Linked DNA regions of Homo sapiens: all the other regions are linked to region 1. Evidence: promoter capture Hi-C in 16 types of primary human blood cells and fetal thymus (Javierre and others, 2016). All regions are on one chromosome and are shown on one strand. The core of a region is centred on a gene start or on the middle of the fragment in contact, and the rest is flanking DNA. Distances in the headings are between cores, read along the strand shown. Region 1 holds the start of C1orf116 (chromosome 1 open reading frame 116). Region 2 has its middle 8.4 kb from the start of EIF2D. Region 3 overlaps CR2 (complement C3d receptor 2). Region 4 holds the start of CR1 (complement C3b/C4b receptor 1 (Knops blood group)). Region 5 overlaps EIF2D (eukaryotic translation initiation factor 2D). Region 6 has its middle 8.3 kb from the start of CR2. Region 7 overlaps CR1 (complement C3b/C4b receptor 1 (Knops blood group)).

The links. The method cuts DNA at HindIII sites, captures the fragments that hold promoters and counts their contacts. A CHiCAGO score of 5 or more calls a contact.
Region 2: a contact is called between a fragment that was not itself captured here and the fragment with the promoter of C1orf116 in region 1, in 1 of 17 cell types (naive B cells). The highest score is 5.8, in naive B cells.
Region 3: a fragment that was not itself captured here is called in contact with the fragment with the promoter of C1orf116 in region 1 in 9 of 17 cell types (neutrophils, monocytes, naive CD4 T cells and 6 more); the score reaches 11.1 in neutrophils.
Region 4: the fragment with the promoter of CR1 here is called in contact with the fragment with the promoter of C1orf116 in region 1 in 17 of 17 cell types (neutrophils, monocytes, total B cells and 14 more); the score reaches 15.2 in neutrophils.
Region 5: a fragment that was not itself captured here is called in contact with the fragment with the promoter of C1orf116 in region 1 in 1 of 17 cell types (naive B cells); the score reaches 5.2 in naive B cells.
Region 6: a fragment that was not itself captured here is called in contact with the fragment with the promoter of C1orf116 in region 1 in 5 of 17 cell types (neutrophils, monocytes, total CD4 T cells and 2 more); the score reaches 9.4 in neutrophils.
Region 7: a fragment that was not itself captured here is called in contact with the fragment with the promoter of C1orf116 in region 1 in 12 of 17 cell types (neutrophils, naive B cells, monocytes and 9 more); the score reaches 12.1 in neutrophils.

What each region holds. Positions count from the first base shown.
Region 1 is chr1:207,031,354-207,034,941 of GRCh38, forward strand. It overlaps C1orf116 (chromosome 1 open reading frame 116), which reads right to left and starts at 1,403. Exons shown (of 4, transcript NM_023938.6): 1 at 1,226-1,403. It also overlaps a transcript of PFKFB2 not described here. The HindIII fragment of the contact is 5,727 bases long and covers 1-3,588 here.
Region 2 is chr1:206,618,991-206,622,816 of GRCh38, forward strand. No RefSeq gene overlaps it. Among named protein-coding and RNA genes, the nearest start is that of EIF2D, 8.4 kb to the left of the region's middle. The HindIII fragment of the contact is 436 bases long and covers 1,895-2,330 here.
Region 3 is chr1:207,463,422-207,467,614 of GRCh38, forward strand. CR2 (complement C3d receptor 2) reads left to right here. Exons shown (of 20, transcript NM_001006658.3): 2 at 3,105-3,491. Among named protein-coding and RNA genes, the nearest start is that of CR2, 11 kb to the left of the region's middle. The HindIII fragment of the contact is 1,394 bases long and covers 1,270-2,663 here.
Region 4 is chr1:207,494,588-207,498,392 of GRCh38, forward strand. It overlaps CR1 (complement C3b/C4b receptor 1 (Knops blood group)), which reads left to right and starts at 1,570. Exons shown (of 47, transcript NM_000651.6): 1 at 1,570-1,801. The coding sequence starts at 1,681. The HindIII fragment of the contact is 13,119 bases long and covers 1-3,805 here.
Region 5 is chr1:206,599,682-206,603,840 of GRCh38, forward strand. It overlaps EIF2D (eukaryotic translation initiation factor 2D), which reads right to left. Exons shown (of 15, transcript NM_006893.3): 6 at 3,270-3,523; 7 at 2,655-2,772; 8 at 582-627; 9 at 52-155. Among named protein-coding and RNA genes, the nearest start is that of EIF2D, 11 kb to the right of the region's middle. RefSeq lists an enhancer at 2,206-3,405. The HindIII fragment of the contact is 1,854 bases long and covers 1,320-3,173 here.
Region 6 is chr1:207,444,036-207,447,979 of GRCh38, forward strand. No RefSeq gene overlaps it. Among named protein-coding and RNA genes, the nearest start is that of CR2, 8.3 kb to the right of the region's middle. The HindIII fragment of the contact is 7,026 bases long and covers 1-3,944 here.
Region 7 is chr1:207,511,607-207,515,661 of GRCh38, forward strand. CR1 (complement C3b/C4b receptor 1 (Knops blood group)) reads left to right here. Exons shown (of 47, transcript NM_000651.6): 4 at 1-48. Among named protein-coding and RNA genes, the nearest start is that of CR1, 17 kb to the left of the region's middle. The HindIII fragment of the contact is 7,541 bases long and covers 1-4,055 here.

The sequences.
Region 1 (3,588 bases), core at 153-2,652:
ACACTGCCAGTGGTCTTTATTCCTAAATTCACCATCTAGGGCAGCCCTCAGTCTGTGAGTGTGGGGTGTTGGCTCTGTGGTGTGAGGTGAGCTCAAGCCTAAATCTCCAGTTGCCAGGACTGGAAAACCCATATATTCACTCAGGGCTGCGTGTGCCAGGCCCTTGAGCCTGGCACTGAGGGCTTCCCACTTCCCTCTTCTCTGCAGCAGGAGGAAAAGAGTCAAAGTTAGGGACCAAAGGGTTAAACCCCCCAAGATGGATAATGGAGAGGCAACTTGCTACTCTGACTCGACTCCTACATCTGCCTTCCTTCTGCAGGTAAATCTGCCACACAAACTGCCAACTGGGACACCTGCAGGAAAACAAACAAAGCCACCACCCTGGTCTGCTTCTCTGTCTGTGGACTCTGCCACACTACCTTGGCTTGAGCCCCACTTGGAACTCTAACTAGACTTGACATGCAGCCACGAAATATTCATGTGGGTGAGGCTCGGCACAGCCAGGTAGCTTTCTGTTTGCCAGTCTCTGTGTCTATTAACAGGCTGAGTCAGAAAGTTAATTGAGTAGAATCCAAATAAACTTGACTTTGCAGCTAGATTATCCATGGGTTTTCCAAAGATGAGCTGGTAGCTGAAGTTTTCTCCATGTGCCCCAACCTCATATCCCTTTACAAACAACCTAGTACAGCTCATGCCTAACACACCTGTACACAGAGAGCTCCATTATCACATGAGCATGATCAAACACACACACACATTGCACCCATTATTTAAATAAAGATCGACACCGAGTTGGTAAAGCCACGGGAGAATTTCCTGTTACAGTCGCTATGGAAAACCAAGATACTCTCCCCCATTTTGACTCCCTCTATTTCAACTGTTCTTTTCTAAAATCACAACTCAATTTCAATTGTTCAGAGATGGAAATTTCCAAAACAAATCTATTTTCTTTTTCTTGTTGTTTGCACAATATGCCTATCCAACCTAAAGGGATAAATGAAAAAGAAGGTGCCTCCCAGCCCCAGTCTCCACAAAAACACTACAATCTCAAGTTGCTACCAACCTGATCTGATCCCAGAATGGACTCAGAGAATTGAGGAACAGAGAGGAAATCTCCCTAGCTGGGGTATAGAGGGACACCTCCCCTCCCCTGTAGCTCTGATTTCCCATGAAACCCCTTCCTATTGCTATAGGATAAGCAATAGTTGGTTAGTGATTAACTCACCTCCACTGGGTTGGGGGCTGAAGAGAGAAAAGAAATACCCTTTTGTTTCAAAGGGCAGAGATGGAGACAGAGGCTGCTTCCCCTGCCTCCTACTGTTTTCTTCTCCTTTTGAGCTCCTCCTGACTTACCTAGATAGGTAAATGCTTCATCTGTGCTGCCTGGCCCCCACCCTGCCACTGACTCAGCCAATCCTAGCCTCCCCTCCCTACCTCTCATTCCAGCTGTTTCCTCAGGGAGGGAATGGGAGGGGAATGAGCAGGGTGGTGCTGTTCCCTCTTAGCCAATCATCTCCTACCCTCCCCTTTCCTGTTTAGAGCTAATAAAGAGCTCTTTAAAAAAGGAGGGCTGGAAGGAGGAGGAGCCGGTTTGGGCTGAGACTGGAAGGACAGGTGGCAGGGAGGGAGTAGGCAGAGATAGTATATATATTTAATGTTGATATAAAGGAACGCAGACAGTCCTCTGGGCAGTGTGCTTTTCCATAGGTCTATGTGAAACAGGTTTTTCATCTAGAACTACCTTCTTCCGCTTGGAGCTTAGTTTTCCCCTGAATTCTCTAGGCTAAACTCATTTGTGTTCAGTTTTGCTGCTAGCTTTTCTAGATGTTGAAAGTCACTTTCTTCCCCAAGCCTAATCCTAGCTCATAAGCCTAGCAATTCCATTCATGTCCACTGAAGAAGGTGTCCCCAGGCTAGGGATGCTGTAGTTGGGCCAGTCTCGCCCCAGTGCTTGCCAACAATCTCCTTGGCCTAATTTATTTCTGGGGGAAATAAAACCATTCATCCCCTAAGAGGTCCGTGTCCTGATGAAAGAGTGACTGGACAGCTTGAAAGGAGAGAGCATGCACTCTGTCATTTGGTCCTCTGCTCTCTTTTGGCTGTTCATGGAAGGTGGCAATACATATTATGAAATAAAAACAAAACAAACTACCAACCAGTTTAGCAACTCTTGTCTCCTTTCATGGACTGATACTTGGCATTCGTAGGGAGAAGAGAGTAGGTAGAAGAATCTACTATTTTTGGGAAGAAATTTCCCACCAGGTACAGAGACCACTCTTAACAGATATGATTTTTGCCTGGAAGCTGGTTTTTCCTACAGGTAGATTATCCTTGATAGGTATCAGGATTTGAGGTATTCCACTTACTAGCATTAAAAGGTCAGGGAGAAAATTTAAAATCAATGTACACAATAATTGCCAAAATGTATTAAGCTCTTGCTATTTGCTAGGTATTGTGCTGAGCATTTTCATGTATCTTTTAATTTAGTCTTTAACTTAAAAAAGTAGGCATTTGTTAATATCTAAATTTTACAGGGAGGTTAAAAATCTTTTTCAAGGCCATGTAGCTAGGAAGAGGCAGGGCAGAGATTTTAATTCAGGCAGTATAACATCAAGGTTGCTATGAATCAGCATAATGCCAATCCGCCTCTATTTTGGAAGGAATCTCAAGTGGGAATCATGAAATACACAGATAATTTGCAAGTGTAATTCTAGCTATTAGATTCGTCCTTTTCTGTTTCATTTCCTACTTAAAGCTATTAATATGTTTTATAACAAGACGACACATGGCTTTCATCTTTTCTCTTTCTGTGATCATGGTTGGATAGGAAATAAAAAGGGCAGTGATCCTGGGGCCAAGGTAAAGATGAAGTGGAGCAGGACTAATGGATAGGAAGGAGGTTGGAGGAAGCCTGGGATAACCCAGTACCCTATCAGCAGCCTATGGATATCACAGCTGAATGAGCACTTCGGGCTATGACCTCTTTCCCTGGTGTGTCATTCAAACATATATGATGTCATAATACTAACAAAACAGGAAGGGCATCTCCAAATCAGCAGTTCAGTGCAACCAGAGTCACACCCATGGATGAAGTCAATGAAGTTGATCCAGCTCCATAGGTGTGTGATTTGAACATTTGCTAAAAAAATGAATTGACTTATGAGAATTAACTTCCAAGAGGATAGTAGGCAACAGTCTTATTTGTGAACAGACACAGTTTTTCAGTTATAATAAAATTAGGATAACTAGGAGGAACCCCTATCTTTTACCAGGTAGAAGCAGGGACATAGACAAAAATCATCTTTCCCTTCCTCCCTTTCCTCTCAAAAACTTTTTCTTTTTGTAAATTATGAAATATTTCAGATACACTGACATAACAAACATAACCGTACCTAACATCCAGTTCAGGAAATAAAACATAAACATCACAGTCGAAGTTACTTACAAGCCTTGAGCCTCCCCTCCCTGCAAACACATATATGTCCTAGCTGAAATAAATCACTATTTCAAATTTTCTTTTTTCCATTCTCCATGTACTTAAATGTTTTCCCTGGAATTCATATTGTTTTTGCTTTGTTTTATTTTTGC
Region 2 (3,826 bases), core at 863-3,362, 410 kb before region 1:
GATGGGCAGATCACTTGAGGTCAGGAGTTTGAGACCAGCCTGGCCAACATGGGAAACCCTGTCTCTACTAAAAATATATATATATTAAAAAAACAACAAAAAAAGCAGGGTGTGGTGGCGGGTGCCTGTAATCCCAGCTACTCGGGAGGCTGAGGCAGAAGAATCCCTTGAACCCAGGAGGCAGAGGTTGTAGTGAGCCAAGATCGTGCCATTGCACTCCAGCCTGGGTGACAGTGAGACTCCGTTTCAAAAAAAAAAAAAAAAATTGACAATGTTAAGTTGTGGCAAGGATGTGGAGCAACTGGAACTCTTAGGCATTGCTGGTGGGAATGCAAAATGATAAATAACTTTGGAAAACGGCCAGGTGCCATGGCTTGTACCTGTAATCCTAGCATTTTGGGAGGCCAAGGTGAGTGGATCGCTTGAACCCAGGAGTTCAAGACCAGCCTGGGCAAAATGGTGAAACCCTGTCTCTAAAAAACTAACAAAAAATTAGCCAAGGAAGGGGTAAGGGGGTGGCTGAGGTGGGAGGATCGCTTGAGCTCAGGAGGCAGAGGTTGAAGTGAGCCGAGATCCCACCACTGCACTCCAACCTGGGTGACAGAGTGAGACCTTGTCTCAAAAAAAGAAAAAAAAAAAAGGCCGGGCGCGGTGGCTCACACCTATAATCCCAGCACTTTGGGAGGCTGAGGCAGGTGGATCACGAGGTCAGGAGATCGAGACCATCCTGGCTAACAAGGTGAAACCTCGTCTCAACTAAAAATAGAAAAAATTAGCAGGGTGTGGTGGCAGGCACCTGTAGTCCCAGCTACTCAGGAGGCTGAGGCAGGAGAATGGCGGGAACCCGGGAGGCGGAGCTTGCAGTGAGCTGAGATGGCGCCACTGTACTCCAGCCTGGCCGACAGAGCAAGACTCCGTCTCAAAAAAAAAATAATAAAAAAAAAAAAAGGGAGAAAACTTGTGTTCATACAAATCTGGACATAAATGATGATCAGAGGCTTTTTCATAATTGCCAAACCCTAGAAACAATTCAAATTTCAAATGTCATATATACAGGACAAAGATCTAACAAAAAAGGATAGTGTCACTGTGCTTTCGGGTTAACCAGTCCTTTGCTGGTGAATTGAATGGGGGAAAGGGGAACTCTGACTTAGAGTGCTTACCCATTTCTGCATTGTAAATACTCCTACCATGGCCTATTTCAAGTTAGGTTTAACAAACCGCAGCTTACAAAATTCTTGAATATTTAACAATCAGCTTGACCAAGTTATATAATCTCTCTGAGCCTCAGTTTTTTGTAAAATATTAATGGATAAAACTGCCTGGCCGGGCATGGTGGCTCACACCTACCTGTAACCTCGGCACTTTGGGAGGCCAAGGCAAGAGGATCATTTGAGCTCAGGAGTTCCAGGCTAGCCTGGGCAACATGGTGAAACCCTGTCTCTAAAAATATACCAAAAAATTAGCTGAGTGTGATGACATGAACCTGTAGTCCCAGCTACTCGGGAAGCTGAGGCAGGATAATTGCTTGAGCCCAGGAGGTTGAGGCTGTAGTGAGCTGACATAGCGACACCACACTCCAGCCTGGGCAACAGAGTGAGGCCCTGTTTCAAACAAAACAAAACTGTCTAACTTCATCGTAGTGAGGATTAAATGGAATAATATGCATCAAACTCTTAGCACAGGGTCTAGCAAATAGTAAACACTCAAAGGGTAGCTATTATTATATTGATTGCTTAGGCCTTAATATAGAGTACTCAGCTGCTTAAAGCAGAGGAAAAACAAGCAAAATCATACAACCAGTGTCCAAAGTCTGCAGCACATGAAATAGAACACTATAAAGGATCATCATGATAGTGATCGGTTGGAGGTTCTGAGCAATTTTCCCACGTTAAGCTTCTCCAAGTCCTGAGGTAAGGGGGGAAACAGAAAGGCTTCCAACCATAATGATGGATTCTGGCTTTCTAGTCAATTCCCCTTGTTCACTTGCATTGGGAGACAAGAAAGAAAAACTTTTGAGAATACATGGCCAATAAGAGTGGAAGAGGCTCTGAAATCAGGGAATCATTTGTTATTGCTGTATACAGATGTGTAGCTGTTATGCATTATTCCCAGGTTCAAGATCCTTAAACCTTAAAAAAGGTTACCATTGTGGCAATTTAAAGTGTGCTCCTATTTCATTTAATCTGGAATCCCGAGACTCGTTCTGTTTTCACCCACATGTCAGCCACAGTGCTTGGTCATAGTTGCTTCACAAACGCGTGTGGACTTGAATCCCACATTAGAGCTCAAAGGTTCCTCAAGAGCTTCTAATCCCAGGATGGCAAATAAGCTTTATGTGCCATGTCAACTCTCCCAGGTTGGTACCAGCTGACTAGGGAGCCATGCTGAGGATTCTGAAGCCAAATCTGAGGAGCTGAGAAAAGAAGGCTGTAATTAAAGGGCATGGTGTCTTCTCAGCCCCAGAAGGGAAAGTGGTGATGCCTAGGCTGTTTGTTGCCAATGCTACCCTAATCCCACCCTTCATTTACAGCAGAACAACCTGCAAGCCAAAAGTAGAGACCCAGGATAAAAAATAAAAATATTCTGAAAACTTTTAGGTAAAGTCATGGATAACAAAGCTTTCGTGGGTCATTGTGGGAAAAGTAGCATTTTCTTTCTCTAAACTTTGAGGTCAGACCATAATCTTCTAAAGTATCTTTTAGAAGTATTCCTTGGGTGCTGGGTGCGGAGACTCACACCTGTAATTCCAGCACTTTGGGAGGCCGAGGTAGGAGGATCACCTGAGGTCAGGAGTTCTAGACCAGCCTGGCCAACATGGCAAAACTTCTGTCTCTACTAAAAATACAAAAATTAGCTGGGCATGGTAGCGCATGTCTGTTAAAAAAAAAAAAATGTATTCCTTGGGGCCTCGCTGAAAAAATGAACATGGAGGAGAGAGGTGGGTGGACAACAATTATCCTACTGCTCTTATTGCTAATCTTATTAGTTCTAGAGCCACACCTAGGGCTGCTTCCCACTCAGCTCTGACCACCACACCTCATTCTCCTTCCCTGTCCGTCTTTCCCTAGAGGGTCTTAATCCAGTGGTTCTCAAAATGTCGTTTCTAGAGCCACAGTGACATCAGCTAGGATTTTGTCAGAAAAACAAATTCTCAGATACTACCCTATATCTACAAAATAAGGAATTTTTTTTGTTTGTTTTTTGTTTGTTTTTGTTTTTGTTTTGAGATGGAATCTCGCTTTGTCGCCTAGGGTAGAGTACAGCTGTGCGATCTTGGCTTACTGCAATCTCGGCCTTCCAGGTTCAAGTGATTCTCCTGCCTCAGCCTCCCAAGTAGCAGGGATTACAGGCACTCGCCACCACAACCGGCTAATTTTTGTATTTTTAGTAGAGACACGGTTTGGCCGTGTTGGCCAGGCTGGTCTCAAACTCCTGACCTCAAGTAATCCACCCGCCTTGGCCTCCCAAAGTGCTGGGGTAACAGGGTGAGCCACTGTACCTGGCCCTGTGCTTGTTTCAATAATAGCTTTATTGAGATATAGTTCATTGCCCTACAACTCACCCATTTAAAGTGGACAATTCAGTAGCTCTTAGAATATTCACAAAGTTGCACAACCATCACCACAATCAACATTTTAGAACATTTTCATCACCCTCAAAAGAAACCCTGTACCCATTAGCAGTCACTCCTCGATTTTCCTCAGCTGCTCAGTCCTAGACAACCACTGATTGACTTTCTGTCCCTATTGATTTGCCTTTTCTGGACATTTCATATAAATAGAATTATACAATGCATGGCCGTTTGTGACTGGTTTCTTTCATT
Region 3 (4,193 bases), core at 717-3,216, 430 kb after region 1:
CCCTAGAAGAGAAGGAAGTTTTGGCTGCTCTCTTCCAGTTTTAAGTCTCCAGTGCTACTGACCAGGAGCTTGAATTTCATTTGGCTTTAAATTGTATGAGTCCTTAATCTGTCACCCCTGCTTGTCATAAATGATATTCTATTCTCTGCTATTCTTTCAGTAGAGAAAGAACTAAGTTTTTCTAAAATGTAAGTCTAGCTGGGAGATGATCACTCTTTATTTTTATTTTTATTTTAAGTTCTGGGGTACATGTGCAGGATGTGCAGTTTTGTTACAGGGTAAACGTGTGCCGCGAGATTTCTTATCTCTTTGTCTTTAGATATCTACTCTTTGGTGACTCATCTGCTACATGTATTATCTCAGACAATATTGTAACCTGGGATAATGACATGCCTTTTAATGAATGTAAGTAAAACAATCTCTTTATTGCACCCTATTTAATTCCTCTTGTCCCCTTCCAGAGGGAAATTGAGCATCTGCACACCAAAGTGAGTAGCCAGGAGGGTTTACACTTGGTTTGAGTAGCTCTAGGCACACAGCTATGACTTACCCATCTTCCTCATGGCCCCCAATCCTACCACACGTTCCTTTGTTTACTGTCCTTTGATTATAAGTTATTTCATAGTGAGTAAATGCTTACATCTAAAACATTCCAGGAGATTACACACTGCCAACTTTATTCCATGCAAAAAGTAAGCCACCCTAGGTCCCTTCTATAACAATTTATCTGTGGTCTGGGGCGGGGACTGGTGACCAGCTCATAGCTTTTCGGTTTTTATCAGCCAGTTCCATATATCTTTTGACCTTGCTACTTCCTATTTAGAATCATCTTTGAGATCAGGATACAGAATTTCAACAAAATAGGTAAATTGTAGGCTGAGTTGCAGTTTGGATTGCAAGAATGAAGAGAAAATTCTCAGAAAGTATAATATTCTCTCTTTCCCCACCTACTCCTTAAAAAGGTATTCCTTGTAAGTCACTCCCAGCCATCCCCCATGGGACTTTGACAGCAGCAGCAGGGAGAGGGGTTTGCTATGAAATCATCAGTGCCATATTGGATGTAATAGGGAAAAGCTGTTTGACCTCTTGGATGAGAAGTCAATGCATTGCACCAGCAAAGATAATCAAGTTGATGTCTGGAGCTCTGGAGCAACCCTCCTCTTCAGTGTATTACTCTTACTTGAATGCTCAATTATAGAAGTTGAAAATGGAGTTGTGGAATCTGGATTATGTTCATTTTTTTAAAATGATACATGATATTTAAGTGTAAGCTTGGTTTTACCCTGAAAGGCAGCAATGTAATATGGTGTCAACTAAACAGCAAACAGAATCCTCTACTGCCAAAGTGCTTCAGGGGTGAGTTGGGCTGAAACTTCAGGATCTAGAAATAAAACAAGGTTTTTCTGGGAAATAGATATATGGTACCTATGGAAAGAGCAGAAGGAAGATAGTATATGTGGTTGAGTTTTCTAGTTAAAGAGTTTTTTATTGTTATTGTTTGTTTTGTGTTTCTGTTTTTGTTTTTTTGAGATGGAGTCTCGCTCAGTCGCCCAGGCTGGAGTGCAATGGCGTGATCTTGGCTCACTGCAACCTCCACCTCCTGGGTTCAAGCGATTCTCCTGTCTCAGCCTCCCGAGTAGCTGGGATTACAGGCATCCAACATCATGCCTGGCTAATTTTTGTATTTTTGTAGAGATGGGGTTTCACCATGTTGACCAGGCTGGTCTTGAACTCCTGACCTCAGGTGATCCACCTGCCTCAGCCTCCCAAAGTGCTGGGATTACAGACGTGAACCACCACACCCTGCCTAGTTAAAGAGTTTAAAAGTAAACTTTGAAAGTAATATCTAAATGTTGCAGATGTAGGACTTTTTCTTCTTTTGTATTTTGGGGCAGTGCTAGATCTGTGTTATTGTAGGGGAAATTAAAAGATGCTTTTTTAAAAAAGCAGATAGCACCAAAGTCAATGATTAGAGATTTTTTCATACATATATATATATATAATTATCACATCTTATCCATAGGTGTGCTTTGAACATATATATGCCACTCTTCTCTGTCTTCTGGAATGCAGACCAAAGATGTTAAATTGATTCAGTTGAGTATATATTATACTGCAGATTCTATATGTATAAAGACAACAGTTCTCGAAAGTTACCCTTACTGAAACCAAGTATAGCACTGATGTGATGAAACAGTTTGGCTGTATCTTCTTATGTCAGTTTTCACTGAAGACCTCCTCTTGGAGCCAAAGGGAAGTTAACTGAAAGTTCTAGAGGTTGGCAATTTTCCCTTTATTCTGAGACTCCCTCAGAAAAGGCGTGCATAACAAAGTAAATGTAAACAATATCCTTCATGGTTATTAGGACAAGTAAATGAAGAATATGAGGCCATTATTCAAAACCTCTGTTCACTTCCTGTGGCTTTTTCAAAGTGTTCCAGCCTCAAGTCAGGACAAATCACCTGTACTGAGGCTCTAGCATCTTCAGCAGCAGGACCAAAAGTGGTCATCTCAGCCTGTACCCCCAGTTGTGTGTTTGAAGCAGCCATTGAATAATTAGTATGTTCCAGGTATTGTACTTTCTCTGTTCATGTACTTTTAGCACTGGATTCTCACTATACCTTATGAAGTAGTTTGCGTTATACTATAGACTAAGAAACTGAAGCTTAAAGAGAGTAAGACTTGCCTGAGGTCACACAGCTATTGAATGACCGTGGGGAGTTGAAACTAGGTCCACTGAGCTCAAATTTCCCTAATCCATGGTACCTCCCCACATGTAACTATCATGCCACTAATATGTTATTTTCATGTGCTGAATTTGCCTTTTGTTTCATTATTAAAATTGATTAGACTCAGAACTTTTGGATATATTCTTTTCATTATTATTGTTTGGTCAAGATGATTTATGTTGATCTGTTTGCTGAGGATCAAGAAAAAGGTAAGAATTTAGGAGTTTGGGAGTAAGCAGGGAATAAATAAACTATACATATTTCTAAGTCTGTTTCTGAAAAAGTTATGTGATCTATATTTGGATATTTTACCTACATTTGAATATTTTCTCACCATGATCAGTATGCCTACCAAGTTCCTTTTCTACTTTTCAGGGATTTCTTGTGGCTCTCCTCCGCCTATCCTAAATGGCCGGATTAGTTATTATTCTACCCCCATTGCTGTTGGTACCGTGATAAGGTACAGTTGTTCAGGTACCTTCCGCCTCATTGGAGAAAAAAGTCTATTATGCATAACTAAAGACAAAGTGGATGGAACCTGGGATAAACCTGCTCCTAAATGTGAATATTTCAATAAATATTCTTCTTGCCCTGAGCCCATAGTACCAGGAGGATACAAAATTAGAGGCTCTACACCCTACAGACATGGTGATTCTGTGACATTTGCCTGTAAAACCAACTTCTCCATGAACGGAAACAAGTCTGTTTGGTGTCAAGCAAATAATATGTGGGGGCCGACACGACTACCAACCTGTGTAAGTGGTGAGTATGAAAAGAAAGCTGGGTTGGGAGGTTGGGGTCTTGCCTTTCTGTGCAGACCACGTTTTGTACCCTCCTGAAGGACAAACAGTGTGAACATGTAATGATGAGGGTGGAAGAAGGAAACAAGGGAAAAGGTGAAAGTTATGGCTTCTTCGTGGAGGCATATAACTGCTCGTTCAAAAAACATCAATTGAGCAAAGGAGTTTAAAGTACATGGAAAAATGTAATTAAACACACCTAATAATTGAGTAGGGTAAGTTTTGCAAGGATGGGGTCAGAGTTTGTTGGGGATGTGGGAATGGGGTGGTTTTCAACTGTATATCTGTGTTACTGTTAAAATGAGAAGAACGGTGGGATCTTATAGCAAAAATACACCCAATGGATTTGAAATTAATGTATAAGTAGCTGCTAACACAGTCTAGCACAGGTGATATCCTGCTCTCTGTGGTCTCTGTAAACATGTTTTGAAGTTATCCACTATTTCCCCAAGTCATCTTCTGAGCCATCACATTTCAAATAAATGCCTTTGAAAATAGGGACCTACTGTAAATTATTCATTCCTTCTCTTTTGGTTTGGTTTATGTTGCTGCTGAAATATAAATCTGAATTTGAATTCCACAATTACAAGAAATGGCAATATTTGACAAAAATTATACTATCAAATTAGGTATTTTCTTAATAAAGAACAATATTGACAAATTT
Region 4 (3,805 bases), core at 320-2,819, 460 kb after region 1:
GTGATAAGTGATATGATCAAAGTAGACATTTCTTCCACTAGAATTTTGGGAGGAAGCCTAATGGAAACCAATGCGCACAGAAAGACAAATGCTGTATGTTATTAGTCATATGTGGACTCTAAAAAACTCATCTCATAGAAGTAGAGGGTAGAATACTGGTTACCAGAGGCTGGGGAAGGGAGAGACAATGGGAGATGGAGAGAGATTGGTTAAAGGGCACAGGATCACAGATAGATAGGAGGAATACATTCATCCTTGAATACTTAACCCTCTGCCCTAAATCTGTCAGTCCTACATCCATACTTCTTATTTCAGTAAGTAGCACCACCATTCATTTCTAATCCTGGGGCTAACTCTTTTTTTTTTTTCTTTTCTGAATCATGTCTCCTTTTAATGGTTAAGGAAAACAAGTTTAACATAAAATTAGCAACAACAACAACAACAACAACAAAATCAAGGTTTAAAGTCAAAATTATTTTAAGAGAAAAACCCAGGCAAAATAGCCTACCTACAGGCAGGCAGTACATGTCAGAAGGACAGGCCACCCCCAATAAAAAAGATAAAATATTATTTTTTCTACCTTTTTTAAACTTAATTATTTAATTATTTCTTTCTTTTTTCTTTTTTTTGTTTCTTTTTTTTATTATACTTTAAGTTTTAGGGTACATGTGCACAACGTGCAGGTTTGTTACATATGCATACATGTGCGACGTTGGTGTGCTGCACCCATTAACTCGTCCTTTACATTAGGTATATCTCCTAATGCTATCCCTCCCCCCTCCCCCCACCCCACAACAGGCCCCGGTGTGTGATGTTCCTCTTCCTGTGTCCATGTGTTCTCATTGTGGAAGCTGGAAACCATCATTCTCAGCAAACTACCGCAAGGGGGCTAACTCTTGATTGCTTTCTTCTCACCACCAACCTTAAGAAAGGAAGTAACCAAAATCCAATACATGAGCAACTGTTCATTCCATCTCCAATATCTTTGTTAATTGTCCACTTTATCCACCCAGTCAGGGCCGCCATCAAACCTCACTTGGATGTCGGCAAAAGCTCCCCTGACTGGTCTTCGCAGTCCATTATTGCCCTATTCTAATCTACCTTCCATACTATACACAGATTTACATTTTTTAAATGTGTATCTAATTGTCCCTCCCTTTTAAAAAATCTTACAATGGCATGACGTCTCAATTCAGGGTAAGGAAATTGTTTCTTCACATTCCCTGTACACCGTACACATCGCCTGCAATTGCCCTTCAACACGGAGAGCAGGCATTTCATTAGCTGACCTTCCCACACACATTCTTGCAAAGAGGAAAAGTTAAGCAGGGTGTTTGGAGGCGAGCTGCCATCATCCACCGCCTTTGTCTGGAAGCGCAGGGCCTCACACGCGGGATCCATCGGAAGCCCGAGCATTGTCAAGCTCTGCTGCTGCACCTGGGTCAGCAAGGTGGGCTCTGCCAGCGAAACTCGTTAGAAACAATGCAAATGGGGAGTAAACATGACCTCGCCCATGAAGGGGAAGCTGTGGTCAAAAGCATTTTGTCCCGGAACCCCGCAGCCCTCCCCACACTCTGGGCGCGGAGCACAATGATTGGTCACTCCTATTTTCGCTGAGCTTTTCCTCTTATTTCAGTTTTCTTCGAGATCAAATCTGGTTTGTAGATGTGCTTGGGGAGAATGGGGGCCTCTTCTCCAAGAAGCCCGGAGCCTGTCGGGCCGCCGGCGCCCGGTCTCCCCTTCTGCTGCGGAGGATCCCTGCTGGCGGTTGTGGTGCTGCTTGCGCTGCCGGTGGCCTGGGGTGAGAGGCGGGCGGGCGTGGGGAGGCGCCCGGGCGGACGAGGAACCCGGGGCCCCGCAGAGAACTCGCGTGCAGCGCTGAGCTGCGCTGCTCTGCGCGCCCGGGTCCGAAGGCAGCGCGATGGGTGGGCTGAGCGCGCGACCCGGCAGGGCGGCGGGTGTAGGATCCTTCTGCGCACTGGAGACCCTCGCTGCTTCTGGGTAAGCGTGGAGTTCCCAGGTGCAGGGGCTTAAGTCGTGACGAGCGCAGTGGAAGGCGCAGATGCTGAGCGGGTGCCGCACGAAATTCCTTGCCTTTGTGTATTCACAGCCTCGGCTGGCTATAGCCAAGACGTGGCGTTGATCCTAGTGAAAGGGAACTTGGGGATCCGACAAACCTGAGTTCTGGTCCTAGAAACTTAACTGTGAGGCAACTTAGCACACCTGAGTCTGTTTGCTCTTCTGTAAAATGGGGACACTGGTATCTCTGCATCGTGGAGTTGCTGCCTCAGTGGCATTAAGCCTGTCGAGTATCTAACACAGGGCTATGTGTCCCCGAGTCCATTTCTATCCCCCAACCGTTACCTCTGTACTTTGCTCCCAATGGTGTTTAGACAAGCAGTCCTAGGGATGCAGGTGTTACCTGACAACTGCCCCGCATGGAACTGTCCTCGCCCCCCACACCAAGCCACCACGGCCATCATCACCATGCACTTAATTGACAGCATACTTTAAGACAGATGCATGCCAGGCACTTGCGGATTAGAAGAGCAAGGGAAGCCCCAGAACATGCAATGTAACCGTTGCAGGTAGAAGGGACAGTAGATATGTTTACAGTTCGCATTTTAGTGATGTGTTTAGTACAAAATAACGCCTATTATAATTATTATGGAAATTTTGAGGCCACATCTCTTCCTTTTTCTTAACTTCAAATAGGTAAACATCTTCAGTTAGAACCCTTCTATTATTATTTTTCGGCTCCCCAGAAGTCTTCTTGGTTGCCTAGACTCACTGGCAACATCTCATTTGAAGTGACAGTCTTGGTTGTTTTTGTCCAGCCTATTCCTGACAACTCCGGGTTCGCCCTTCTCTGCCACTAGACATTTTACATTCATTATTTGAGTGTTCCTTCTTCTCTAAAAGAGTAAATAAAATAAAATAAAGTAGAACCAAGTCCCGCAAGAGTTGTTATTAATATTTGATCTCCTTAGGCACCAGAAAGTAACCTGTCAGGTGCAGAGATGTGATAAAACGTACAATCTTATTTTTAGGAGAGAAGCATGCCCAGTAAGTTAAGCAATCTGTTGTCAACGCTTAGGAATTTGTGTCATCTTTGGGAGTACTGGCCCTCTTCTTACTAGAATGTTGTTTTACTTAGCCTATGTTGATTAAGTTACTGTTATAAACAATCCCAGACACTATTAATTGCAAAAAAAAAATTTACTGAGGTTATCACAATAACTTCCAAATGTGAAACAGCCTAAACTAAACTACCTAGAAATTTTGTTGCTGACATAATTTAAATTTTAAAATGCTGATGGATGCTTCCAGTGTGCACGGTCCTTTGGAATTTTAAAGAAGTATAAGAGCTCTGCACCCAAAGTGTATGCATATAGAAGTAGGTGGTGGAGTTTTATGAAATCTACTTATTAGGAAGCCAGCGTTCTGCTTTTTCCAGCCTCTGCTACTTACCAGCTGGTGTCTTGGACCCAGTAAGTTAAGTCACATCACTGACCTTCAGTGTCCACATGTATAAAATGAGCACAACTGACATCCTGATCTCTGAGAGAGACGTTTTGAAAATCAGATGGTGTAATGCATGTGACAGTGTTTTGTAATCTGAAAACCCCCATGCATGTCTGAAAAACCATGACTAAGAAGTCGTGCAAGACTGCAGGATCACCGAAAAGCGAGAAATCTCAACTCCTATGATCAGGAAAGGATGAGTGAAAGGTATATGGCTTTACTAGCACTTAAAGAGTGAATCTAGAAACAGATTGCATACGACAAAAAATAGCAGAGGAGC
Region 5 (4,159 bases), core at 997-3,496, 430 kb before region 1:
CCAGGTGCCCTGGGGCCAGCTGGGCTACAGTGACAGGCCCCCTGCACTCACCTCGGGTGTTTCCAGTCCACAGCCACAATGCTCTCCACCCCTTTGCTCAGCTCCTTCACCTGTATAATCTGCTCCTGCTGCATTTGCTGCAGGAACTTAGAGAGCTAAGGGAGAGAGGGCCAGTGGTAGGGGACTTCATTGATTCCACACACATACTGAGCACCCAGGATGTGCCAGAGTGAGCTAGGCAGGGACTGTGCAGGGATATGAGACAGCCCCTGCCTTCATCAACCAGGAACTGGGAGGCCCCCAACCTGAGGGCCAGGGAGCAAGAAGCTGCTAGAGACTAACCAGTGAGGCCGTTCAGAACTCTAATCAGATATAAAGGGGTCAAAGGAGAAAGGAAAGTGGGTGCCACCAACTGCTTCAGCCCAGGGAGAGTTTCTTTCTTCCCCCTTATACTTGGAGTCAAAAAGCTTAATTCTAGACTGAGCCTGGTAGACAAGGCTTCCCCAGCATCCATCTGGCTTATGTCATATGTGCCCCTACACAACTCTCTGCATGGGTCTGCAAAGAAGATCCTTGCTTACCTTTTTGTAGCTTGACTTCTTTATGTCCAGTTGTCGTCCTTCGGGGCTGATGGCAGATGGAAAAGGCAAATTAAACTAATGAGCAGTCATACTGGGACCTGCCTGACACTGAGAGGAGGGCCTTTTTCCTCAGCCTTCCTCCCCCACCTTCAGAGAGAGGCCACTGTGCCAGAACTCTCTGCCCAGGGATGACAGCAGAGAGGGATGCAGACTATGGGACATTCTAAATCAGTGCTGTTCAAGAGAACTTTCCATAGACGTGGAATGTTCTCTGTGTTGTCTAACAGGGCAGCCATTAGCCACATGTGGGTAGTAAGTACTTGAAGTGTGACTAATGTGACCAAGGGAACTGAATTTTAAATTTTATTTACTTTAAATTAATTTAAACTGAAAATAGCGACATGTGGCCAGTGGCTACCACATTGGATACAGCCTTAGATTCCTCCCAGACCAGACAACCTTCTGTGGCCTCCAAAGTTGCAACAGCAAACTCACACTGTGGGCAGCCAGGCCTGGAGTGGGGCCCAGCAAGCCGCATCCTGGGGTCAGGTCTGGCCAACTAATTATCTACTGTCTATGGTCACATTAGTGCTACAATGGCAGCATCGAGCAGTTGCAACAGAGATGGTGTGGCCTGCAAAACTGAAAATATTCATATTTACTATCTGGCCCTTTACAGAAAAACATGCTGACCCCTGCACTACAGCAATTAGTTTTGGAGAGAACATTCCTGATAAAAGCTTACATCTTCTCTCAAAACATGACACGCAATAGCAGTGGATTCTCGAGGAGTCCTTCTAGAATCCACCCCAGAATCCTATCCTACAGAATATTCTGGGGCCCCTTTACCATATATTTGCAACCCAAGAAAGTCAGAACAGATTACCAAGTATCCCTCCACACACTCCAGACACCACATTTGTACAGGATAGCTTAAAGACACCCAAGTATAAATGGGAAGACATTACATTAAGAATCACTTTTTTAAAAAACCACAGCCAGATTCTCAAAAAGAAATAAATTCAGGCCGGACACAGTGGCTCACGCCTGTAATCCCAGCACTACGGGAGGCCGAGGCAGGCGGATCACTTGAGGTTAGGAGTTCAAAACCAGCCTGGGCAACATGGTGATACCCCATCTTTACTAAAAATACAAAAATTAGCTGCACATGGTGGCATGTGCCTGTAATCCCAGCTACTCGGGAAGGCTGAGGCAGGAGAATCTCTTGAACCTGGGAGGCAGGGGTTGCAGTGAGCCGAGATCACGCCACTGTACTCCAGCCTGGGTGACAGAGTGAAACTGTGTCTCAAAACAAAAAATAAATAAATAAATAAATTCAATCTCAGGGTAAAAATCAATAAGCAAACCTCCTGACATGATAGTATTTACTGAATGCTTATTATGGTTCAGGCTATGTAATCTTTACAGCAATCCCATGATTATTAGAAATTAGGACTCAGAGAAGCCCAGTAACAAGCTAAAATGCACATTGCTTGAACACCCTGGAGACCTAGCAGTTGAGTACAGACAGCTCTGTCTTCAAAATCCAGGTTCTATCCACACGCAATAATACCACTCCTGATGGCTTGTGTTTTGGATGGGGTGGGCCGGGACGGGGGGTGTTCACACCAATTCTTCCTCCTAATAAAACCTAATGTGGCCCCCCACATACTTTTCAGAAGTGTGAGGAGGTTGAATGTTCCAGAAGAAGATTCCTGACAAAGAGGCTGCCCTGGGACACTTCCTGCAGAGGACACGCTGCCCGATTTGTGAGGTTGCCCAGAACCCCCACGGCAGAGGCAGTGTTCACAGAATCTCAGGAATTTTAACTTTCCGGTCCTCAATATCCTTTCATTGGCTAAAATTTAAGATTTTGTTTTAACAGCCCAGCAAGCTAAGAATTAACTTTTTAGAACCCAGGAACTAATGTATTTGTCAGATAAGCCTTCCCTCCACTCTTTCCACAGCATGTCCCTCAACCAGTCCCTGCATTGGCCCCATCCTGTCCTACTACCAAGGAGCACACGTGAGACCCCGGCCCCGGCCTCCAGCCCACATCAGTGCTTTCCATACCAGCAGGAGAACATGTGGCTGCCAAGGAAAGTGCTGGTGAGTAAAGGGAGGTCAGCCTTTTTGACTCGGCACTTCAAGGCATGTAAGAAGCATTGCTGTAACAGCTCATCCATTTGTTCTGCAGGGAAAAGACAAGAGCCACATCCTTCCTGAGGGATACAGAACACCTGGTACAAGAAAACGACCCCCAGCTTCATCCCTACCTCACCCACTTGGCTCTGAAAGGAACCCATTCCCAGGTACCAAAGCTCCCAGCCTCTCTTGAGCACTGAGCCTTTAAAGAGGGTTGACCCCAGAGAAGGAGTCAAGCCACAAAGTCCCACCAAGCTAGGAGTGTTCACCCAGAGAAGTTGAGCCAGAAGAAACCTTGGAGGGCTTTGTAGCTGAAGACAGGCAAATGCCAGGGCAGATTAGCTCCCAGGAAGACGTGACTTATGTGGAAAGGATTCAAAAACAAGATGTGAAAGGGCTGCTGCGCCACCCTCACAGAAAATAAGGACCTTCCCCTCCTCCCCCGGAAGCTTAAGGGCCATTCTAGTCAGCAGTGGAGTGGAGTTCGTCAGGCTCCTAAATTGAGAGGTGGGGAGATGGGCTCTTCTCCTCCTAGAGTTATACCTTGAAGCGTTTTGCTATCTGTGGAGTCTTGGTTCAGGCCCCTGGTGCTGGTGTCTTCTGGGGCTTCTGAGAGAGACTTGTCTTCACGTGCCTGGTGAACCTCCCCATTCTCCTCTTCCCCCTCCAGGGTCATGTGCCTCATGTCTCCCTGCAGGGTGGAGTCCATCTGGACAGACCCCTTCTCTTCACTGAGATCTGCTGAATCCAGGGCCAGTGGAGCAATGGAAGGTGGAGAGGACTTGTTTCCAGACCGCCTGGAAAAATCTCATGTCAGAAACATCAAGCAGCAGCTCCAATACTCTCCAGCCCTGGCCACAGAGGAGTCAGCAGTGAGGTCAGAGACAGCAGAGAGCCAACAGGCAGGAGTGGCCAGGAGGGGGCAGAGAGCCTGTGCCCTCATCTCAAGCGTACTTTCAATTCTGGGCCCCTAAAAGTTCCATGCCTCAGTTTCTTCATCTCTGAAATGGGGAGAATAAATCTTGTCTCCTCCCTATCCCAAAAGAATAATACTATTAATAGACATCCCAAGACTGAGAAAGATTAAAGAAAAAGGAGTTTAAGATAAACTCCCAAAAATGTTCCCTTCATCTGAGTTAATAACAAAACCAATTTGAATTAAATATGAACATTAAGATCGCGAATGCATCTGTAATATCTGTTTGGTGAAATGCAAACCCACGGCTCAGCATATGTAATAAAACACAAACACCTGGACTGCTCAAGGACTGCAAAATCAGTGGCTTCTGTGTTACATCAAATGCAGTCTAACGTGGAAAGCAGAGATTGCCATGGTTTTATGCCACTAAGCCTTAGGAAGACAGGAAAACAGGCGATGCCACATAGCAAAGCACACAAAGCAGTAAAAAACTTTATCTTAGCCAACATTATGC
Region 6 (3,944 bases), core at 763-3,262, 410 kb after region 1:
ACTATTCTAAATGTTTCAGATTTAGTTTTGTGTCATCACTAAATTATATTAAGTTACATCACTAAAGTAAATTAGTTTATTAAAGTTCTTTTTAAACTGAAGTCTCGGTAAAGAAGATCAACTATAGGACTTCTCCACATGTCAGGGAGAAGTAGAAATAAAGATGATGAGACATGACCAATCCTGTGTCTTCTTGAAGCCAAAGATATTTGTTTAAATGAAGATTTGGATAAACTCCAAGGTAAACAAAAGGGCTATTAAGAAAAGGTAGGGAATTCTGGAAGGAGTGTGAAAGGACACCCTCTTCCACTACTTACTGGCCCCTCACTGTTCTTCAGTATCACGGCCACCTCTGGAGGCAGACATAGGATGACCCGATGACAGCAATCCATCTCTGTTCCCAAAGGGTATTCTGCATCCCTTAAAACTGTGAGGGGTCAAGCCTTTGTTTCAGTACCTCATAAACACAAAATCTGAAATAAGTAAAATACAGTAAAATATGATATGCAAATCCATGAGTTTTGCAGGAAGACAGGTCCAAATGGCAGGAAAATCTCTTTCTGCTTTGACTGGAAGGAATGAAAACAGAAATGGTGATGAAATGCCTGCAAAGCATTAGGCAGTTTGGAAAGTCCCTGCAAATGTCCCTGTCCCCCATCCTCCAGACCACCCCACACCATTATCACGACTAGCAACATGACCAGGTCACACAGATGTTTGACCATTTTTGTGGACTGCTCATTGATTAGCATTATGTGACAGAAGTATTCCGAGGCAGCTTACTGCTTACTGTAGAAGGTGCTGGTTTTCAGCGAAGATAGTCAAGTGGTTTGGAAGGGGAAAGAATTATCTTAGCCGGAATCTAGACACTGATTCTACTCATTCTGATACTACATTAATTCTGCTTTGCAAAGGGGAAAGAATATTCCTTCTTATTTGACTCCTAAATGAACTTCTTTCACTATTTTGAGGGCCCAACATCCCACACACCCCAGGCCAGTGCGGAAACCCCCTAAAGGAAGCAGTTCCTCTTCTTTTTGGATAACTGGCCAGATTTTTTTCCAGGAAATCTCTAGGATTCATTTTGTTTTTTTACATATGACTTTTATGTTGTATTCAAGATACCCAAACTCTAAGTAATGTAAGTTTATTAGATTGCAAAACATTGCAACTGTTTTAAAACTCCATATTAGTGTCATGACAGGAAACCATAACTGATTTTTAAAATACTTGAATTGGGAAAAATTAAGTCTCATGGAGAGTGATTCTCTTCTCTTGCAGCCACCTGCATGGTCTCTACCATGCCCCTACACTTGCTATGTGTTCTTGGCAATACCCCAGGAGGTTCAGACAATAGCTCATCAACACTGAGAACCACAACTTGCAGATGTGGTAGCCCCATTTACACAATGGCAATTGCTTTGTGCTGGAGCAAGGATCTCATCCACAACCTATGGTCTAAGGGTAACTTGTGCATAAATAGAATTCTGCTGTAAGGCAGGAGGACTAGAGATGGTTTAGAATGGCTTGATATCAATCTCCTTTATAATTCAGCAGAAGCTAGGAAGTTCCAAAGCTGATCATGGAAACAGATACTATCTTAGGATAAATCATAGATTGGGAAACATTTTGCTAAGGACTTCTGGTTGGTGCATTCTGGTTGCTGTTGACAGCAAACATACCCTCTCTTCTTGATCTATCTGCAGTAATGGCCCCTTATACCTTTCTAATATTCATCATTACTTTTATTTTTGTCCCTCTGTTTATTCTTGATCATTCTCACTGGTCATTTGACAAATTAATTAGATTTTTTAAGAACCCAACTTGGCTCCTGTTTTTGATGTCACTGATTTTTTGTTTTAATTTTACTATCTCCTTTCTTCGGATTTTTTTTTCTGACCTCTTAAGACAATATATCTAATATCTCTTTCTAAAACCCGCATTAGCTGTATCCCATAAATTTTAATGTTTTTTTCTCCTATGGCTCAGTTTGAAAAACACACTAATATATGTTCGTTTCTATTATGATTTTTTTCTGCCCTATGTATAAGTTAGACATGTCTATCTTAATTTTCAAACATACAGTTTTTAAAAAGTATTTATTGATTATTAATTTCTAGCTCAATGGCGTAGAGATCAGAGAACATATTCCACATGATTTCAATCTTTGAAGTTTTTCGAGACTTGCCCTATGATCTAGCTTGCAATCAATTTTTGTACATTAGCTTTCTGTATCTGAAAAAGGATGTCTTCTGCATTTATCAGGCGCAGTGTTCTATAAGTTCCCTATGCCTTGCAAGTTAATCATGTATAAATTTTCAATTTATTTGCTAATTTTATCAACTTATTCTATCAATTATCAACAGATAAAATGTATCTGTGAATTTAAATTTGCATTGTAAATTTGTCTGTTTCTTCTTGTAGTTCTGTTGAATTTGTCTTAAATGTTTTGAAGATACACTATTATATGTAGAAAAACTTAAAATTATTATATCATCTAAGTGAACTGTTCTTAAATTTTCTTTTGTCAACAATTGATATAATTACATATATCTTTTACTACTGTTTACATAACATATCTTTTTCCATTACTGATTTTCAAGTTTTCTTTATCTTTAGGGTTTTTTAAATACAGTTTTATTAAACCATAATTCATATACCATGCAATTCATCCATTTAAAGTATGCAATTCAATGACTTTTAGTATATTTACAAATACATTTAGTCATTACTAGAGTCCATTTTAGAACATTTTCATCACCTGAAGAATACTCTTTTAGTGTCATCCTCTATCCACTCCCTATTATCCATCCTCCCTTTATACTCCCCTCCGCTGCTAAGCAATCACTGATCTATTTCCTGTCTCTATAGATTTTCCTGTTGCAGACTTTCACGTGAATGGAATCATATAATGTGTGGACTTTTGTTATTGGCTTCCTCCAGTTAGCATAATGTTTTCATGCCTCATCCAAGTTGTAACATATCAGTACATCATTCCATCTTATGGTTTTTTCCGTTATGTGGATGTACACACTTTGTTTATCCATCAATCCGTTGATTGACATTTGAGTCATCTCTACCTTTTGACTGTTATGAATAATGCTGCTATGAACATTCATGTACAAGTTTTTGTGTGAACATATGCTTTCATTTCTATTGGGTATTTACCTAGGAGAGGAATTGCTGGGTTTAATCATTTGAGAAACTACCAGATTGCTTTCCAAAGTACCTGCACCATTTGATATTCCTGCCAGCAGTGTACAAGGGTTCCAGTTTCACTACATCCTCATCAGCACTTTTTATTATCTGATTGTTTAATTTCAGCCATCCTGGTGAGCTTTGATTTCTGTTTCTAGTGGCCCGAAATTCTACAAGAATCAAAGCTCAAATTCTCCCACACCCCTAAAATGACCTAGTAGATTTCCACTTTCTCTTTTATGTTGCCCTAATAATTTCTCTTATACATTCTGATTATATATATTTATAGGGATATCTAGATAGATGATAGATAGATAGATATATAGATAGATAGGCAGGATGGATGGACAGATAGGATAGATAGATCGATCTAAACACACACACACACACACATACACACACACACACACACACACGTATTTCAGCACTTAGGGTTGTTTTCAGTGGAATAATTCATCCAGTTAACCTAGGACATAACATTACTGAAAATAGAATTCCATTCTTTTACCCATTTTAATTGGTATATCGTTCCTATGGGTATGTAGCAGTTCTTCACATGTTCTACATAACAGTCTCCTTTTTAGTTATATGTATTGCAGATGACTTATGTCTTATGTAAGTCATGTGGTTGTGCTCTTGTAATAATATATTTTAACAAATGAAGTTTTTAGTGTTAATATACTTGAATCCATCAAACTTTTCCTTTATCATTTGCATTTTCATGTCTATTATAAGAAATATTTCCT
Region 7 (4,055 bases), core at 1,300-3,799, 480 kb after region 1:
TCTCAGGTGATACTGTCATTTGGGATAATGAAACACCTATTTGTGACAGTGAGTTGAAATATCCCTTCCTATTTCTTTTACCGACACATTCTAATTTTTCTCTGGAATAATAAAAATCTTAACTGAATTCCTTCTGTGCAATCTGTCCTTCACACGGCTGAAGACTGCGGTAATGTTCTCGAATATTCCTATGGGGTTCCTGGCAACTCTTTCTTTAAGTTCTTCCTTATCCTGGGATGTGTCTTTTCTAATTCCAGAAGTTTAAATACATAAAAGCCTTCAAACTTGATTTTACTTCAATAAACGTGAAATTATGTTGTTTCTACCACCTCCAGTATAATAATCATCTTGCTTGGCAAATCAGTAAAGATTTTTAAAATTGATACTCTTCAAGGTTAGCGAAGCTGTGGAAGAACCTGGACTCTCATGTACCACGAGATCAACACATCCTCTTGAAAGGCCCCATGCACTATAAACCTCAGAAGTGAACATATATTTTAACCTACTTCTTAAAATTTATACTTAGGAAATAATCACACACTTTTTAAAGTAGTTTGGTATAAACTTTTCATTGCAGCATTATTTATATTAGTTAAAATGTTAGAGTAACCTAAATATTTTAAACTATGGTTTGGAAATAATCTACTAGTAGGAAAAAGATGTGTTCAAATGACCATTATAAAGAATTCCCTAAGAAACATAAAACAGCTATGCAGAATGAAAATAAGTATATCCATACACTGGCATGGTATTCAGCCATAAAAAATGACAGCATAAAGAAGCACTTAATGACTAGAAAGAGATGTATTTTATGTGGAAAAAGAATCAGATGAATGGCATATATGGCAAGATCTCACTTTATTAAAAAATAATACACCTATGTAGTGAGGGCCAGGCTGAGGCTGAGAGAAATACAGTGTATAACATCTTTGTCTTACTCTTCTCTTTGGATAACTGGACTCCTTTACTTTTCTTCTTGGTATTTAAAAATGTTACTTTTACTAGAAAGTTTAAGAGCTTCAGAATCTAAGTTTACAAATGACATTGGTCACACATTTATTGCTGTTTATCCACTTTAAGAAACAGTTTTGCTATTTTGTAAAACAAATTGGGAAACCTTCCATCTTATTTGAAATCTGTAATAAACATGGAATTGGAATAGGAATTTTCCTGGAAATATGAAAAAGATTAGTAAAATAGAGAAAACAAAAAATATAATAATACACCTATACCTGTATTTATTTTTTATCTCTGTTTCTACTTCTGTAACCTCTCTGTATCCAAATCCTGGTAAATGGCCTCAAGTCTTCTTGGAAAAGGCTAGGGGAAGATTTACAATACATGCTTTTGATTGTGTAGCATGGTGCTTCCTCAAGAGAATCCAGTCTCCCATCCGTTGGTGCTGCTCTGGGTCTATAAACTATTCAAGTCTAGGAATTGTTGATGAACAATGAACTTCTTTTGCAATAATTCAAGTCAGACTTCTATTCACTTGACCTAAAACTCTTACACTTATACAAATCAAGTAACACTTTAGTCGGCTATCCGTCTACTTTGGTTTTAGAGACTCCATGATCAATTAGCCCAATAACAATGTCCTCTTCAATCAAATCATTCTGATTGCTGTTTCAGCTCAAATATGCATTACAAGAACCCCCATTGTCTCTGGCAATTAAGTGCTGCCACTGGGACTCTGCCACCCTGAGGTCCTTTGGTCCCCAAGTGAATTCAGAGAATCCAGTTCAATGGCAACAGTTCCCATTGTCATTCCTGGCCTACAGAGAATGAACCGTTGCAGAGGATGCTGAAACTCCCCATGTGAATGTATTTCTCAAGCCTCTGGTAAAAGGTCTGTCTTCTGAACCCTCTACTCCTGCACTGTGCCTCACCAGCTCTATCCAAGGATACAACTTTCAGAGTGGAATGGCTGTTGCTTAACTTCTGCCTCTCAAATATCAGGCTAATTTCTCATGCTATAACCCTAGTCCAGAACCGTACAGAGAAAGTAAGTCTGGAAAACTTAATTCCAAATTGGCCTGGTTGACATGGTGCCAAACCACCAAATAATTATAATTTTATTTAACTCTTTGTCTTCTTTTCTTTCTTTCCTTCCCTCCCTCCCTCCTTTCCTCCCTCCCTCCCTCCCTCCCTCCCTCCCTTCCTTCCTTCCTTCCTTCTTTCCTTCCTTCCTTCCTTCCTTCCCTCTTTCCTTATTTTCTTTCTTCTTTACCACGCTGGCTAGGACCACCAGTATAACATTGAACATTGGTAGCAATAGATGTCATCCTTGTCTTGTTCCACATCTCAAAGTTAAAGTTTAAAACATTTCACCATTAAGCTGGTGTTTACTGTAGGCTTTTGGTAGATAACCATTTTTGAAATAAGGAAATTATCTTATATATTCTTCATTGCTAAAAAATTTATGTCTTTGAATCATGTTGAAGTTTATCAAACACTTTAGTTACATATATTGATGTAATCATATCTGTTTCTCTTTTTCTGTTAATGCAACAAATTGTTTTGAGTACATTTTTGAAAGGCAAATGATTTTAAATTTCAATTTTACATTCTTAAAATAAATCAACTCAGTCATAATATTTAATCATTTTTATATATGGCAAATATGCTTTTATGATATATTTTAGATGTTTCTATTAAAATATAATTCATGTATCATAAAAGTTACCTTTTTAAATTATACAATTTAGTGGTGTTTAGTATATTCACAAAGTTGTGTGTTATGGTCTGAACGTTTGAGTCCACCCCAAATCCATATGTTGAAATCCTTACCCCTAAAGTGATGACATTAGGAAGTGAGGCCTTTGAAAGATGATTAGGGCATGAGAGCAGAGCCATCACGAATGGGATTAGCGTCCTAATAAAAGAGGCCCGGAAGAGCTCCTTTGGCCCTCCCACCATGGGAGGAGATGCTGAATCTGCCAGTGTTGGTCTTGAACTCCCCAGCCTCCAAAACTACAAGAAATAAATTTCTGTTGTGTACAAGCTAACCAGTTTATAGTATTTTGTTATAGCAGCCCAAATAGACTAAGACATTGGGCAACCAGCACCGCCAATTAATTCTAGAACACTTTCATCATCCCATTCCTAACATATTTTAGAGATAAGACTATAATTTTCTTTCTTGTAATGTCCTTAATAAGATTTTGATATCAAAGCTATGACAGTCTTATAAAGCCAGCTGGTAGTGTTTCATATATTTGTTTCCTTGTAAGGGTTTATATAAGATTGGCATTATTTCTTCTTTAAAAATAATTCACCAGAAAAGGTATGTGGCCTGGAGTTTACGTTCTTGGGAAGTTTTTTTTTTTCCAACCATTTTCCTGTACCATGTAGACTTTTGGCTGAAGTATAACATATATATATATATACACACACACACACACACACACACACACACACATATATACATATATACTTATATGTATATATGTATATATACGTATATACGTATGCATACGTGTATGTATATGTGTATATATGTACGTATATATACATACGTACGTATATATACGTGTATACGTATATATACATATACATATATAGGTATATACATATATACGTATATATACATATACATATATAGGTATATACATATATATACGTATATATACATATACATATATAGGTATATACGTATACGTATACATATATAGGTATATGTATACATATATACACACTATATATATATACACATATATATAGTGTGTATATATGCACACATCTTAATCATGCAGTTCAATGGAGTTTTACAAAGTAAATGTATCCATGTAAACGTCACTCAGATTAAGATATAGAACATTATCAGCACCCCAGAAGCCTTCCCGATGCCCTTTCCCAGTTATCTTCCCAAAGAAACCACTATTCTGATTTATAACACTAATAGTTTTGTTGCTTCCTAAATTTTATATTAAAGGAATCAAAAAATAGATACTCTTTTGTGTCCAGCTTCATCTCAATGTTATATTTGGAAGAGTCATTTTTGTTTTTGCAGGAAGGATTGTTGGGTCTTCTTTATTATTATGTTGTATTTCATT